2 separate regions of the Homo sapiens genome follow, and region 2 is linked to region 1. Evidence: promoter capture Hi-C in human tissues and cell types (Jung and others, 2019). All regions are on one chromosome and are shown on one strand. Each heading gives the region's core, a stretch centred on a gene start or on the middle of the fragment in contact. The rest is flanking DNA. Distances are from core to core; before and after follow the strand shown. Region 1 holds the start of BEGAIN (brain enriched guanylate kinase associated). Region 2 overlaps LINC02320 (long intergenic non-protein coding RNA 2320).

Region 1 (6,811 bases), core at 1,809-4,308:
GCCACTTTTGAGTTCCCTTCCTGGCTAGAGGGGAGAGAAGAGCCCCAGCAGCTCCTGACTCCTGCCGTACTGGCCAAGGTCCATGTCTCCCAGCAAACTGTGGACTCGTGGAGGGCAAGGTCTGTGTCAGACTCACCTAAGTGACCCCAATGAGCAGTGCAGAGTGGGTGCTTAGGTACAGCATGTTAGGTGAGTGTAGAATTCACACACTTAGTCATTCATCATTCATTCATTCATTCATTCCTATAATGATTAAAGCAATAGAGACACCTCTGGCCAGCTTCTCCCACCACAGGCTACAATCTGATGCCTGCTCTCAGGCCACAGAAGTCACTCCCCTGACTGTAATGGGTGTTAAGCTTCTGATACGGAGCCCTAGAGAGGAGACAGTGAGTCAGCGGCAGAGGAGGAACCAGAACCCAGGGCTGCAGACCTCCGTCCAGGCCTCTCCACTAAGGCTAGCGACCAGCTCTGCGGCAGGAAGGGGAGTCAGAAGAGAACCATGCGGGGTGATTCTAGACCAACACGGCGAGTCCTAGGGTCACCCACCCATCTGTCCCAGGGATCCTTACCTCCCTTAGGGGGAGGAGCCACACCTCCCCACCGCCATGGCTTCCACACTCCAGCAGGACACAGCCTCTCTAAGTCTTGAGACTTGAACACTCTACACTCTCCCCATCACCTTCAGGCCTTGGGCCAGGCTCCTGTAACACACCTTGACCCCTTCATCTGTTCAGCAACTACTCAGCCCTTGGACCCCACCTCCTGGGACCCTGGGTAATGATTTGTGGACTGTGTCCAATAGCCATGGACTCATGGGCTTCAGTCAATCCCTCCCATCCATCCATCCATCCATCCATCCATCCATCCATCCCTCCCTCCCTCCCTCCCTCCCATCCATCCATCCATCCATCCCATCCATCCATCCCTCCCATCCCTCCCATCCATCCCTCCTTCCCTCCCTCCCATCCATCCCTCCCTCCCTCCCTCCCATCCATCCATCCCTCCCTCCCTCCCTCCCATCCATCCATCCCTCCCATCCATCCCTCCCTCCCTCCCATCCATCCATCCATCCATCCATCCATCCATCCATCCATCCATTCATCCATCCATCCACTCTTCAGCATCAGGAGTGCCTGCAGGAGTAGGGAAGCTCCTTCAAAGTGTTGCCGTGGAGATGATGCGTGGAAATGCTGATCCAGGGCCCAGTACATAGCAGGCGTTCCATAAATGGCAGCTATGTGGGCCAGACCCTGCGCCCAAGTCTTGGGAGAGTGGATGGAAGATCTTCCAGATTGCTTAGGGCTCATTTCCTCTCTCCAGGCCTGGGCTCTGACAGGTGTCCCCCTACTCCACCCCAGCGCATGGAAAACTCATCCTCCAGGCTGAGGTTCTAGGCAGCCCTCCCCTCCCCACTCAGCTCCCAGGTGCGAACAGCTCCAGGTTTTGACGACAAACGGAACGCGGAGCCTTGGAATCTATAAATATGAGACAAAAGCTGGGGAGGGCCCTTGGCGGCAGCGCAGCCGCCCATCGCCCAGAGCCCGTGTGCTGAGCCCGGGCAGAGCCGCATCTGCCACAGTGCTTGCTTTTCCAAGCTGCCCTGATTATAGTGAGAGTCGGGAAAATTAAGGGTTTGCAGGATGCTGCTGGGGCCCTCTCTGCCGTCTCCCCGCCCTGCGTGTCACAGATGCCAGGCAGAGCCACCCCCAACGGCCAGTTGCCCCTGCTGGCAAGACCAAGGCCAGCCTGGCAGGGCTGCACACCGCAGTTTGTTAGGGGCTTCTGCCCACAGTCCTCGTGGGAGCCTGGCCCTGGGAGTAGTGGGGGTCTCTGCTGCTCTTGGCAGGCAGAGGAACTAGGGTCCAGAGAAGGAAAAGAACCTGTCCATGGCCTCCAGAGAGCCAGAGCACTGGGGCCTCCGACGGAGCCTGGCTGTGGAGACCCCGCCCCACCCATACCCCCAGGGCCTGGACCCCCAGTCTGCACTGGCGGCCGACCTTGGCCATGCGGACTTTGCACGTGCAGTGCTCCCTATCCATCCGGCCCCGCTCCCGGGTGCCCACTCTGCTCCCATTCTGCCGGCTCAGGAGACTCCAGCGCGTCGCCCACGCTGTTCCTGCCCTGAGGAAACCACATTGGGGATGGGGTGGGGCACAGACGAGGAAGGAAACACCTCTAAACCAAGCAGGAAGCGGAAACGCTGGGGCAGAAATTCCCATCCAACGTGCTGGGGCTCAGGGAGGGTGAGCGCGCCGGCTGAGCCGCTCTGGGCGAGGCCCTGGCCTCCCTGAGCCTCAGTTTCCTCGCCTGTAAAGGGGCAGGAGGATAGTACCTGCCGCGAGGTACTGAATGGGATGGTGGTGTCCGAGGTTCGTGCGCGCCCACGCGCTGCAAACGCTCAATGAGGCGGCCCCGGGTCCAGCCTCCTTCCGGCTCCCGGGCCTTTCTCCGGCCTCCCAAGCAGGGGCTGGCCCTGCCCCCAGACGCAGGCGGGTCCAGGCCTGCCCGCACCCTCGCCACCCGCCCGGGACAGCGGCGGGTCCCCAGTCCTCCGGCCGCGCCCTTGGTCACCCGTCCCTCCTTTCCTTCCGCCGCAGGGGCGCGCGTGTCAGGGCGCAAGGACCCCGCGATAGGACCCGGGCGCTCCCGGCGGCGCGCGGAGGCTGGGCATCCCCGCCCCACCCGAGAGTGCCCAGTTCCCAGGAGACCCGGCCCGGCTCCTCCCGGGCCAGTGAAGCCTCCACGGCGGGGGCGCAGCGCGGAGGGGAGCGGGGCGGGGGGCCGGCCACCTCCCGCGCTGAGCAGGGACCGCCCCAGGCGTGGGTGGCGCCCGCCCCGCCTCCGCGCCCGCGCCCGCGCCCTGCCCTCCCGGCTCGCAGGTACTCACCGCCCGGCGCAGCCGGCCCGGCCGGCGACCGCCAGTCCACATGGCCCCAGGGCAGCCGCGCCGCTCACCGCCGCCGCCGCTACCGCCGCCCCCTCCCCTCCGAGGCCGAGCGCGCCGGGAGCCGGCGCGGCCGGGGCTCCCCCACCCCGCCCGGCTTCCCGCAGGGAGCGCCCGCCCCCCGCCCCCAGCCCGGCTCCCCGCCAGCCCCGGCCCCGCGCAGCCGCGGCTGAGCCCGCGCGTCCTCCCGGCAGCGCCCGGCCGGGGCGCAAGTGGTGGGCGCAGGGCCGGGCAGGGGCGCGGGGGTGCGGCGTGCGCGGGGGCCAGGCGAGGAATGGCAGAGGGGCAGGGAATGAATGAACCCGCGCCAGCTTGAATGGCTGAGCGCGTGAATGAATGAGTGCGGTAGAGCATGCGGGGCTGGGGGGGCGGGGGGAATGAATAAATGAGAGAACTAATGCACGGGCGCGAAGGTGAGTGACAGAGTGAATGGGCCCTTGAAACCCAGAGGCTGTCAGTAATGACCTGCCCAACCTTTTCATCGGTCCATCCATTCAATCCCTCAACATTTATTAGACACCTAGTGTGTACCAACCAGCCCTGCTGTAGGCCCCAGGGGGTACAGTAGCGAGTGAAACCAAGCTCCTGCCCTCGCAGAGTCACATTTTACAGATGAGGAAACCCTGGCTCCCAAGGGTGCCTCCTGGCCAAGCTGCCCCTTACCCTGCCCTTGCTCTGCCCGAGCCCCCAGTCGGTGGCTTCCAGGGCTTGCCTTCTCCCCAAGGAGCTCTCAGGAAGGGAAGGTGGCTTCAGGAGGACCAGTGTTGCCCCCTGCCTATCCCTCCAGTCTGAAGCATCCCACCGACCTGCCCGGTAGAGCCCAGGCTGGCCAGTCCTACCCTGGTAAAGGTGCAGCGTGAACCCTCCTCTCTCCTCCCAGAGCGGGCAAGGGGCAGCCCTGAGGGTGCCAGCTACATGAGGGTCTTCCATCCCAGCCAGCCCAGCAGCAGCCAGCGTGGGAACCCGGGGAGGAGCACTGGCAGCCAGGGAGGGTCCTGCGTGGTGGAAACAGAGCTGGCAAAGCCCGTGTGCTTCGCTCATATCCTCCCTCGGGACCTATGGGCTCATGGTTCACACATGCTTATATCATTTCCAAGTACATGGCAGATTAGAAGATGCTGCGAATGAGTACCTTGTATATTTTTGTTTTTTAATTGTGGAAAACATGGAAAACATAAAATTTACCATTTTAACCACTTTTAAAGTGTACAGTTTGGGGACACTGAGTTCCCACTGTTGAGCTGCCATCACCACCATCCTTATATGCTGTATGTTGTATGCTTTGCAGTTTCTACGCTCTCTCATTTAATCTGGGGAGTAGGTTGCTACATTCAGGCAGTGTCAGTGCTGAGAAAAGGCACTGATAGCAAGGCAAGAGGGGAAACCCAGAAAAAAAGGAGACAAGCAAAAGAACCAGCAGCTGACTGGAGCCACTTCGTGTCAAGCAAAGTCCTGTCTCTGCTCCCTCTCAGGTCCCAGGGACATGATTGGGTAACCAATGGACAGAGGGAGGCGCCTCCAAGTGCACCCCACCACAGTCAAGACAAAATGAGAGGCGGCAGCTCAGGGCGGGGCTCTCCCAGTTTGGGCGAAGCGTGGACAGACTTCGCCCAAACCGTCGCTGGTGTGCACCACGGGACCAGCCTCTTTGCTCAAGGGGGCCTTAGTCTCCCCAGCAGGAGTAGGGACAGGCTCCCTGACCTCCACTCTGGCCTCTCAGGTTCAGACACCATTCAGGCAGCACACAGCAGTGGAGGCATCCTGTGAGAGGTAGTGAGGCCCAGCCTGCCAGCTCCAGTGTCCCTTCCCTCCCCAGTCCCTAAGGGGACAAACACCAATGGGGGATGTGGAACCTGGGGTACAGGCAGGGCTCTGCCCACATTGCCTCCTCCTGGGCTGCGGCCCTTCCCCAGAGGCTGGTCCTGCTCAGATGGTGCCAGAATGTTCACCGCCCGCCCTGGCACTGCTGCTGCCAACGCCACAGATGGCTGGGGAGGCGGGGGAGGGGCGGGTGGGGTGGGGGCGGCTCCTGCTTCAGCTCCAGCAGCTTGCAGGCTTCAGCTCAGGCCTGCCTGGGAAGGCCCCAGGAGAGCCCCTCCCCCATGCTGCACGCACCTCCCGTCCCCACCCTCCCTGCCCTCTCTTCTATCCTTCCCACTCCAGCCCCCTTAAGCTAGGAAGGCGGAGAGAAAGCAGGCATTGGTTGTGGGTCTGGGAGCATCCCTGCAATGCCCCTGTAGGGGAAGTGGTACTAGCCCCTTTTTGCAGATGGGGAAACTACAGTCAGTGCAGCAGAGCCTGGGGCATCAGGCAGGCTTCCTGGAGGAGGCAAGGTTTCAGCCGGGTTGGGAAGAAGGGATGAAAGTGGCAGGACTTCGAGGTGATGCCCTGGGGCCATGGAGGACCCTCTCCTCAGGCCCCTGCCCTCATTCAGACCTCTACGGACCACTCTGTTTGACATCACCATCCCCATGGCTCAATCTCGTTGCCCTATTTTGTTTTTTGCGTGTCTCTTACTGCGTTCCAGAGCTATCTGATCTGTCTGTTGATGTGGACATCAATCTCCCCGCTGGGATGCGTGGTCCTCTACTGTGGTCAGGGAGCAGGGCAGGAAGTGGCACCACACTGGGGCTCATGGTTAAATGTGCCAAAGAATGCATGGATGGATGGAGGTGGGGGAGATAGGAATAGCCTGGTGTGATGCCAGGCTTCTGGCCCTGGTGGCTGAGTATAAAAGAAAGGACAGCACGTCAGGGAAGTCATTGACAGTGAGGCACCCGCAGACAGCCACATACAGGGGCTCCAGCATCAGCTAGCCATGCTGACCAGTTCCCTGCCTCATCTTCCAATCCCCACCCACAAGAACAGATTGAGCAAGGGTTCTGACTATGAGCCCTAGAGAATGGGAAGGTGAGAGGTATCTTCCCACTCTCCCACAAACAACAGGTGCTCCAACTGAAACTCTGGAGTCCCCTGCAGAATCGGGCTACAGCTGCCCTCCACAGGTGGTGAGAAGGCCCTGAATTGGCCCAAGTGTGTATCTAACAATGACCCCAACTGCAATATTAACCCAAATTCCAACCTATATCAAATGCTAAACCTAACTCTAATGGGACCCAAAACCAAAGCAAACTTTAACCCTACCCCAATGCTAGCCTGAACAGTAACATGAACCCTAAACCCGACTCTAACCCCAACACTGTCCTGCCAGAAAGCAATAACCTCAACCCACACCACACGCTAAAGTTAACCCAGACGCCAACCCAAAACCAAATCCCAAAAGGAACATTAAACCAAACCCCAACCCAGCCCTAACCCTAACACTAAACACTGCCAAAAACACCCCAAGCACTAGCCCAAATCCTAACCATAATCCCAACCCCAAACCTAAGCCTAATCCCAACCTGACCCTAACCCTAATCCCAAACCAAATCCTAACCCTAATCCTAACCCCAGCCCTAACCCTAACCGTACCCCGCTGCCCTGTTCCTTCACCTGCTTGTCCTGGGAGCAACGATGAGGGGGGCCTGGGACCGTAGGAAGCGGGCACAGGCAGCTGGGAGCCTCGTAGGTGCTCTGTCCGAGGCAGGTCCCAGGCCCAGGGGTCTGGCCCACTGCTCCTCCTGGGGTGGTGCTGTGAGCCCCTTGGCCTCCACCCCACTGCCTGCCCTGCTCTGTCTCCATGGGAAGCAGCAGTGGCCTCCTCCCTGGGCCTCTGCCCCTGTCAGGCCTTTCCAGCAGGTGGAGGTGGTTTGGATGCTGTGGCTTGGGCTTCAAAACTGTAAATAGGGGAAACCATTTTCAAACAAATATTTGTCAAGCAAAATCCCATCTCATCTCAGTGTGACTGGGCTTATCTCTTTA
Region 2 (6,811 bases), core at 1,448-3,947, 1.0 Mb after region 1:
CCAGGGCCTGTGGAGGAAGGAGACGCCTGACCTCACACTGCAGAGGCCGGGGCAGGGCAGGGAGATTCCTGTGCATGCTACTCTAGGGATGGGGCCTGGATTCTTCAGTGGGTCCCTGGGCAAGTCAGGCTCCCTAAATGCCCCACTGTAGGTGCCTGCAGTAACAAGAACAAGAAGGGCAGGGCATGCAGCAAAGCCACAAGGCACAGGCTGCGCACACCTACTGGCTGTGACCCTGAGCAAGTTACATAACTACTCTGTGCCTCAATGCTCTCATCTGTAAAGTGAGAGTAACAATTTCTGCCTACCTGACAGGGCTAAGGGAGGATTAAATGAACCAATATCTGAAAGTTCTCAGCATGATGCCTGGCCGATGAAAAAAACCTCAGAAAGTGTTAGTACTACTACTACTAATAATAATAATAAGCAATAACAATGAAGAGTTCATGGCCCCGTGACAGTGGTGCCTGGCACTGACCTCTGTGTTTGTTCTAATTCTCTCAAGACCCCTGAGAATAACTGCCACACAGATGTCAGCACAGGGGCTGGGCCTCCCTGCCCACTTTCTGCTTCCCAGAAAGTGGCCAACTTCCCCCTGGCCAACTATGCTTTCTAGCCAATATGTAAGTTATGGCTTTTCCTCTGTGGCTCAGCATAGGGAGCAGGGCAGGAGAAAGGCAGGGACTCCACCAAGGTCACACAAAGAGTGCCAGTGGGGCCTGGTCCACCCTTCTCAGGAAGGTCTGAGCTCCCTGTCCTGTGCTCCCATAATACCTAACCTTCACCTTGCAGATGAGTCACTGCAACTGTGCTTGCTCTTTAAGGTCTACCTTGCCTGTAAAAGCCAGAGCTGTTCATGCAAAATTTCCTGCACCTGGGCCTGAGTCAGAGTTGGTTCTCAACCAATATTTTTTAGTGGATGAGTAGGTAGGTGGATGGATGGATGATTGGATGGATGGATGGATGGATGGATGGATGGATGGATGCATGGATGCATGGACTGACAGATGGATAGGTGGATGGATGGTTAAGTAGGTGGGTGGATGGATGGATGGATGGATGGATGGATGGATGGATGGATGGATGGATAGATGGATGGATGCATGGATCGACAGATGGATAGGTGGATGTATGGTTAAGTGGGTGGGTGAATGGATGGATGGATGGATGGATAGATGAGTTCCAGTGTGAATGGATGGGTGGATGGATAGGTGGATGAGTCCTGAGATGAATGGATGGGTGGAGGGTAAGTGGATGAGTTCCAGAATGAATAGGTTTGTGGATGAGTTTGTGGATGGGTTGTGGCTGGGTAGACTTCAGAGACAGCACTCTCCTGGGACATATCATTGAGCCTTTCCCCATAATCTGAAACACAAGGAGGCTTCAATGGTGTGGGATCCAAATGGGATCCAAAAAAGATTCTAAAACCTTCTGAGTCAAGTGCATTTGGCCTCAGTGGGCCTCAGTCTATCCATCATGAAGTTGTGAGAAGAGGACCAGCCTGCCTGTGTTTCACGATTCCCGGGATGAACCCTCCTTAAAGGAGAGGTACAGTAGCACCTTGAAAAGGGTAAGTGCTGCAAAGACCTGGTTTAGAGGATAATGTTAGCCCTGCCAAGGGTACCAAGGGTGCAGCAGGGAGACACGCCCTGCCAGGCCTGTCCTGGGAGCATGCACGGGTTTGCCCTGGCAGGCATGCAGGTAGAGGGAGACAGCCGCCCTCAAGGCACTCATGCCCTCTAACCCAGTAATTCCACTTCTAAGAATGGACCCTAAGGAGGTAGTCAAGGATTTCCAGAGAGACTCACCTATGAGTGTGGTCATTGCAGGGTCAGAAAAGGGAAGATGTCCATGTAATAACAGACTTCAGCGTAAATAACTCATTTCTCTACACTGCAGGGCACTCCTCCACAGCGGAATATTACGCAGCTGTTCAAAGTGGGTTTTTGAAGAATGACTACATGGCATGGGAAACTCTTAAAAGATTACTGGAAAAAAATCAAGATAAGACAAACTGCACGTGGAGTAAGATCTCATGCCTATTGGGAGGAAGTCTCTTTCTGAGTATTTGCTTGGGAAAAAAGTCCTCAATAGGTATATACCAGAACGCCTGGTTATCTCTAGGTGGGGGGATTATAGCGTTTTTTCTTCCTAGTAATTTTCCATATTATCCAAATTGCATTTCAGGGGTGCAGGCCAGGGGGTGGCCCTGAGTGGGCCTCTGTCTCTGAACTTCCTTCCCTGGGGACCAAACAGGAAAACCCCCACCCTTCCCCTCCAGAAGGGAGGGATTCCTAAGGACAGAAGAGCTATGGAGGGAGGAAGTGCCCTGTCCAAGCCCTTTCAAACATCAGGATACATAAAACTCCAGGCCCTTACTGCCTGCATCTTATCTGAGAAGTGGGATTTTTGGAGCTATGTCATTGCCAGCTTTGCTGTCTCTCCGTGTTTTTTTCACCTTCCACTTTTTTTTTTTTTTTTTTTTTTGAGACGGAGTCTTGCTCTGTCGCTAGATTGGAGTGCAGTGGCACGATCTCGGCTCACTGCAATCTCTGCTTCCCGGGTTCAAGTGATTCTCCTGCCTCAGCCTCCCCAAACTCCCACTGGGACTACAGGCGCCTGCCGTCACGCCCAGCAAATTTTTTTTTTTTTTTTTTTTTTTTTTTTAGTAGAGACGTGTTTCACCATGTTGCCCAGGCTGGTCTCGAACTCCTGAGCTCAGGCAATCTGCCCGCCTCGGCCTCCCAAAGTGCTAGGATTACAGGCGTGAGCCACCGCTCCCGGCCTCACCTTCCACATTTTCTACAATGAACAAGAAGAACTTGGCAAGTCAAGAGAAGAAGCAAAGCCATAGAGAGCTAGCCAGGGGCGTTGGCCGGCTGTGGATCTGTCCAGACCCAGGCCGCCCTCCTACGCGGGCCTGCTGCAACCTGCGCTGGGGTTGAGGCAGGAACCAAGCTTGGGGCCAACCGACTGCGTGGGACGTGGCTCCCGGATCTGCCCCTCACCAGCTGAGGACACCGGAGCGTCTCTCTCCAGGACTCAGTTTCCCCATCTGTGAAGTGAGGATAGTCCCACCCCCCAGCTCAATGGATCCCTGCGGGAGGAGGGAATGCGAGGCTGGTTGTGGGTCGGGGGGCCTCTTTCCGATTCTTCCTGAAGAACCCTGCACAGAGGAGACGGGGGACTGGGAGGGGCCTGGGTCTCCGAGTGTGGGCACGGGGAGCTGAGGTCTTGCAGCTCCTGGGTCTGGGGCGCCGGGGTTCTGTGAGAGCCCCAGCTTCGTCACGTACGACTTCCTCTCCTCTAATTGAGGGAATTGCAGAAGCCCCGGAGGGCGGCTGGTTCAGAGACCGAAACAAAGGCAGGATCAGGACCCTGGATCAGAATGGGGTCCACGCGTGAGTCTCTGTAATTAACGCTCTGGTGTCTCAAATTACGAGAAAATATATAAAACATGTAATTGCTTCTGTATTTTGGACACTCATTAGGAGAATAATAAATGTTATTATTTATTAATATGGTAATGAATCATCTCGCTTTTAAAATTAAACATTAAACCGCTAACAAATTAAATGTAAATTATTAGGCCCCGAGTTGATGGAAAGAGTTCCCCGGGGAGGGGCCGCTGGGCTCCTTCTTTGCAGAAATGAGTGCGTCGCCCTTTAACTAGGCGCGGAGGCTGCGAGCGGTGCGGGGTGACCTGAGGACACCCGAAGACACGGGCGACTCGCGGGGACATCCTGCCCCCTGCCGGCCGCGAGCGGGACCGCAGCGGCCCGCGGGTAGCGTCCCGCCGCGGAGGTGGTTTTTCCTTGTGATCTTTCCAGAAGCAGTGAAGCCCTCTTGGGCACCCGCGCCCCTCGCCTGGCAGACAGCCACCCGCTCGCGCACGAACTCGCTGCACAGAGCTGTCAGGAGTGGGGCGTGTGGCCTGGAGCGAGGCTGCTCGCGTAGGCTGGGCCTGGGCTCCTGGCCGTGTTGTCACCGCCAATCCCCACACACGCAAGAGAAAGCAGCTTCTAGCCTCATCTCACACACGGGAAAGTGAGGCTCAGAGATGTGTGGCCTGGCCGGGGTGCACAGCCAGTATCCGGTGGGCCTGGGATGCCAGCCCAGCCTGCCAGGCCCCAGGGTGGCCATCATGGAGTGGGACTCCCGGGCTGGCCCCCCAGAGCCTGTTCCAGGCACGTGCATTTGAATTAATGGGGTTACTGTTTCCTGAGGGCTCTTGCCAGACACCAGCTACTTACTGCACGTGGTTGAGCCCAATCAAGTAGGCAGTGTGCCCTGTGCCCATCTTACGCACGAGCAGACTGAGGCACGGAGAGGCTTCAGCGACTTGCCCAGGTCAGCAGCAAGGAAGTAGGGGCAGGAGAGAGAAGTAGGTCTTGCTGAGTCTAGAGTTAGCTCTTGACCACTCCAGGCCAGACTGGGTTCTCCCTCCTTCCAGGAGGAGGGCAGGCAGCCCCATCTGTGCCCATCCCTGCGGTGCACAAAACAGTGCAGCTTCCGGGCCACTGGCTGTGTTTCTAGGGATCACCTGAGTTAAAGCAAGAAAAGGAATCATTATTTTTTTAACCAATACATGATTTGGGGCTTAGAGGTTGTTTGCAGTCACTCTTATGAAGAATGCTACAGCAGACACCGTGGGTTCAAGGTTATTTCCTTGGGAAAGACTTCCAGAAGTCAAACTGCTGGAACCAAAGGCTGGGACAGCAGGATTTTGGCATGCATGTTATTAGGATCCTTCTCGTATATGTGTCCCAGCTTGCACTCATCTGGGGAGGGACTCAGAAAAGAGGGCCTCCTCCCCTCACAACCAATAGCACCCTTGAGATGGCCCAGGCTGGCAGGGTTGGAAAAGTCCAGCTCATCTATGGTCCAGTTCTCTGGTGGGCACTGACCCTTGAGCCAGCCACACCCACACCCACACCCACACCCATGCCTGTGGGGATCAGAGGTCAATAGATGCAGCCTCCAATGGTCTGAGGCTCCCTGACTTTCCTCCCGCCTTCTCTCCGTGTGTAATCCCAGCCCAGGGCCACCCTTTGGTGGCAAACACAGACACCCCTGTGTCAGCCATACGTATTCAGCCAAGGCTTTATGAGTACCTTCCACTTAGGAACCCTCACTTCTGTCTCTGCCTTCCCTTGCGATTATGAGTCCCAGCAATGGCAGCTGAGCACTCAGGATGCCCACTCCTGGCTCTGACTTTACGTCACTTTCTCAACACGTTACAGGTGAAGAGCCTGCCAAGTGGCCGAGCCACGATTTGGCCCCAGAGCCCAAGTTCTGTTCTTTCCTTGGGTCTCTGCTGTCTGCCCAGGCCTGAGCATGGTCCCTCAGACAGGCTCAGGAAGTATTTGTGGATGAATCAATGAACGACCCCGTGAGGGCCTTTGCCTTTCTCCCCTGCCAGGCTGGGAGCCCCCAGAAGACAAGTGGGGTTGACCATGTGCCTGGAAGGAGTCACGGCTCCTCTCTAGACCGGAACTCCCCACTAGAGCGATGGGGTGCCACAGGGTATCCCAGCAGGCCCGGCAAGCACATCACAGGAGCGTGGAGAAGCGGGACCAGCCGTGCCCCCATCCCTGGGAGCCCTGCCCCCAGCCTTGTCTAAGGCCTCACTTGCCCCATATCTGGTTTGGGGAGCAGGTTTCTCACCCCAATATGATTCTGTTCTCTGCCCCCTCTGCCCTCCTACCCCACACATCCCAGCGTGGATGGACGAGACTTCGCCCCTGCCTCCTGCCCGGGCCCCTGCCATGGGAAGGGGACGCATTATTGCTCTCTCTCAGGGCTATTCAGACACCAACTAATTTATTTCCCTCCTGCCCCCTTCCTTATTGATCAATGCTTTAGCTGAGTGGCTGTTAAATGACTTGTTCCCATAGCAACCATCAGATACATGCTCGGATCTGATGTGTCTGTTTCCTGAGCCAGATCGCCTCCTAAGAGCTTGGAGAGAACAAATCTCCTTTCATATCCGTCGCTGTCTTCTGAAAGGCACAGGATATTGTTCAGAACAAGTCATTTTTTAAAACAATATTAAAAAAAGAACTAGGTTTTTCAACAGATATAAAGTTGTTTCATAAGGTGCATCATTCTTAAGAAGTATTAAATCAGATTTTAAAAGCTTTGACCAAGTTAATCTTTCTTCTGCCTACTTTTCCTTCTGCACAGGGGGAAGTATGGAAACGGTCTCTGCATAAAGATACTCTGCTGCATCATTTATAAAAAGAAAAATTGAAAACAGCCTAAAAGCACAATAGACGATTCAAATGATCTATGGTTCACATACCTGTGAGGGTTTTATAGAGATGCTGAAACGCTGCTTAGAAGAGAGAAACACACATGTCAACAACGTGAAGTGAAAAAAAAGAAACAAGATTAAAAACTGTGTCTGCACGGGTGAGCATAATGAATGGAAAACAAAGCTAAATTATGTAGAGGAAAAAATACTCAGGAAAACAAACACAGTGAAATGTTGACAGAAGTGTTTCTTGTTGGCAGAGCCATGGGATTTTCTTCCTTATTCACTTACTTAATACATATTTATTGAGCACCTACTACGAGCCCAGCCCTGTCTGAGGCATTAACAGCACAACTGCTATTTCTACTGCCTATATTTTCCCAAATGTGTTTAAAACTGTTTTAAAACTATGTATTTTTTTCTTATTTTTGTTTGTTTGTTTGTTTGTTCTGAGACAGGCTCAAGTGATCCTCCCACCTCAGCCTCCCCAGTAGCTGGGACTACAGGCGTGCACTACTACACCCCACTAATTTTTGTATTTTTTGTAGAAACAGG

The links. Contacts are between HindIII fragments. The study calls those that stand out against the background at their distance.
Region 2: a contact is called between a fragment that was not itself captured here and the fragment with the promoter of BEGAIN in region 1, in 1 of the 25 tissues and cell types used here (lymphoblastoid cells).

Annotation. Positions count from the first base shown.
Region 1 is chr14:100,584,359-100,591,169 of GRCh38, forward strand. BEGAIN (brain enriched guanylate kinase associated) reads right to left here and starts at 3,059. Exons shown (of 7, transcript NM_001385089.1): 1 at 2,891-3,059. The coding sequence starts at 2,932. The HindIII fragment of the contact is 7,942 bases long and covers 1-6,811 here.
Region 2 is chr14:101,624,862-101,631,672 of GRCh38, forward strand. It overlaps LINC02320 (long intergenic non-protein coding RNA 2320), which reads right to left. Exons shown (of 6, transcript NR_184269.1): 6 at 3,488-4,543. Among named protein-coding and RNA genes, the nearest start is that of DIO3, 67 kb to the left of the region's middle. The HindIII fragment of the contact is 3,701 bases long and covers 848-4,548 here.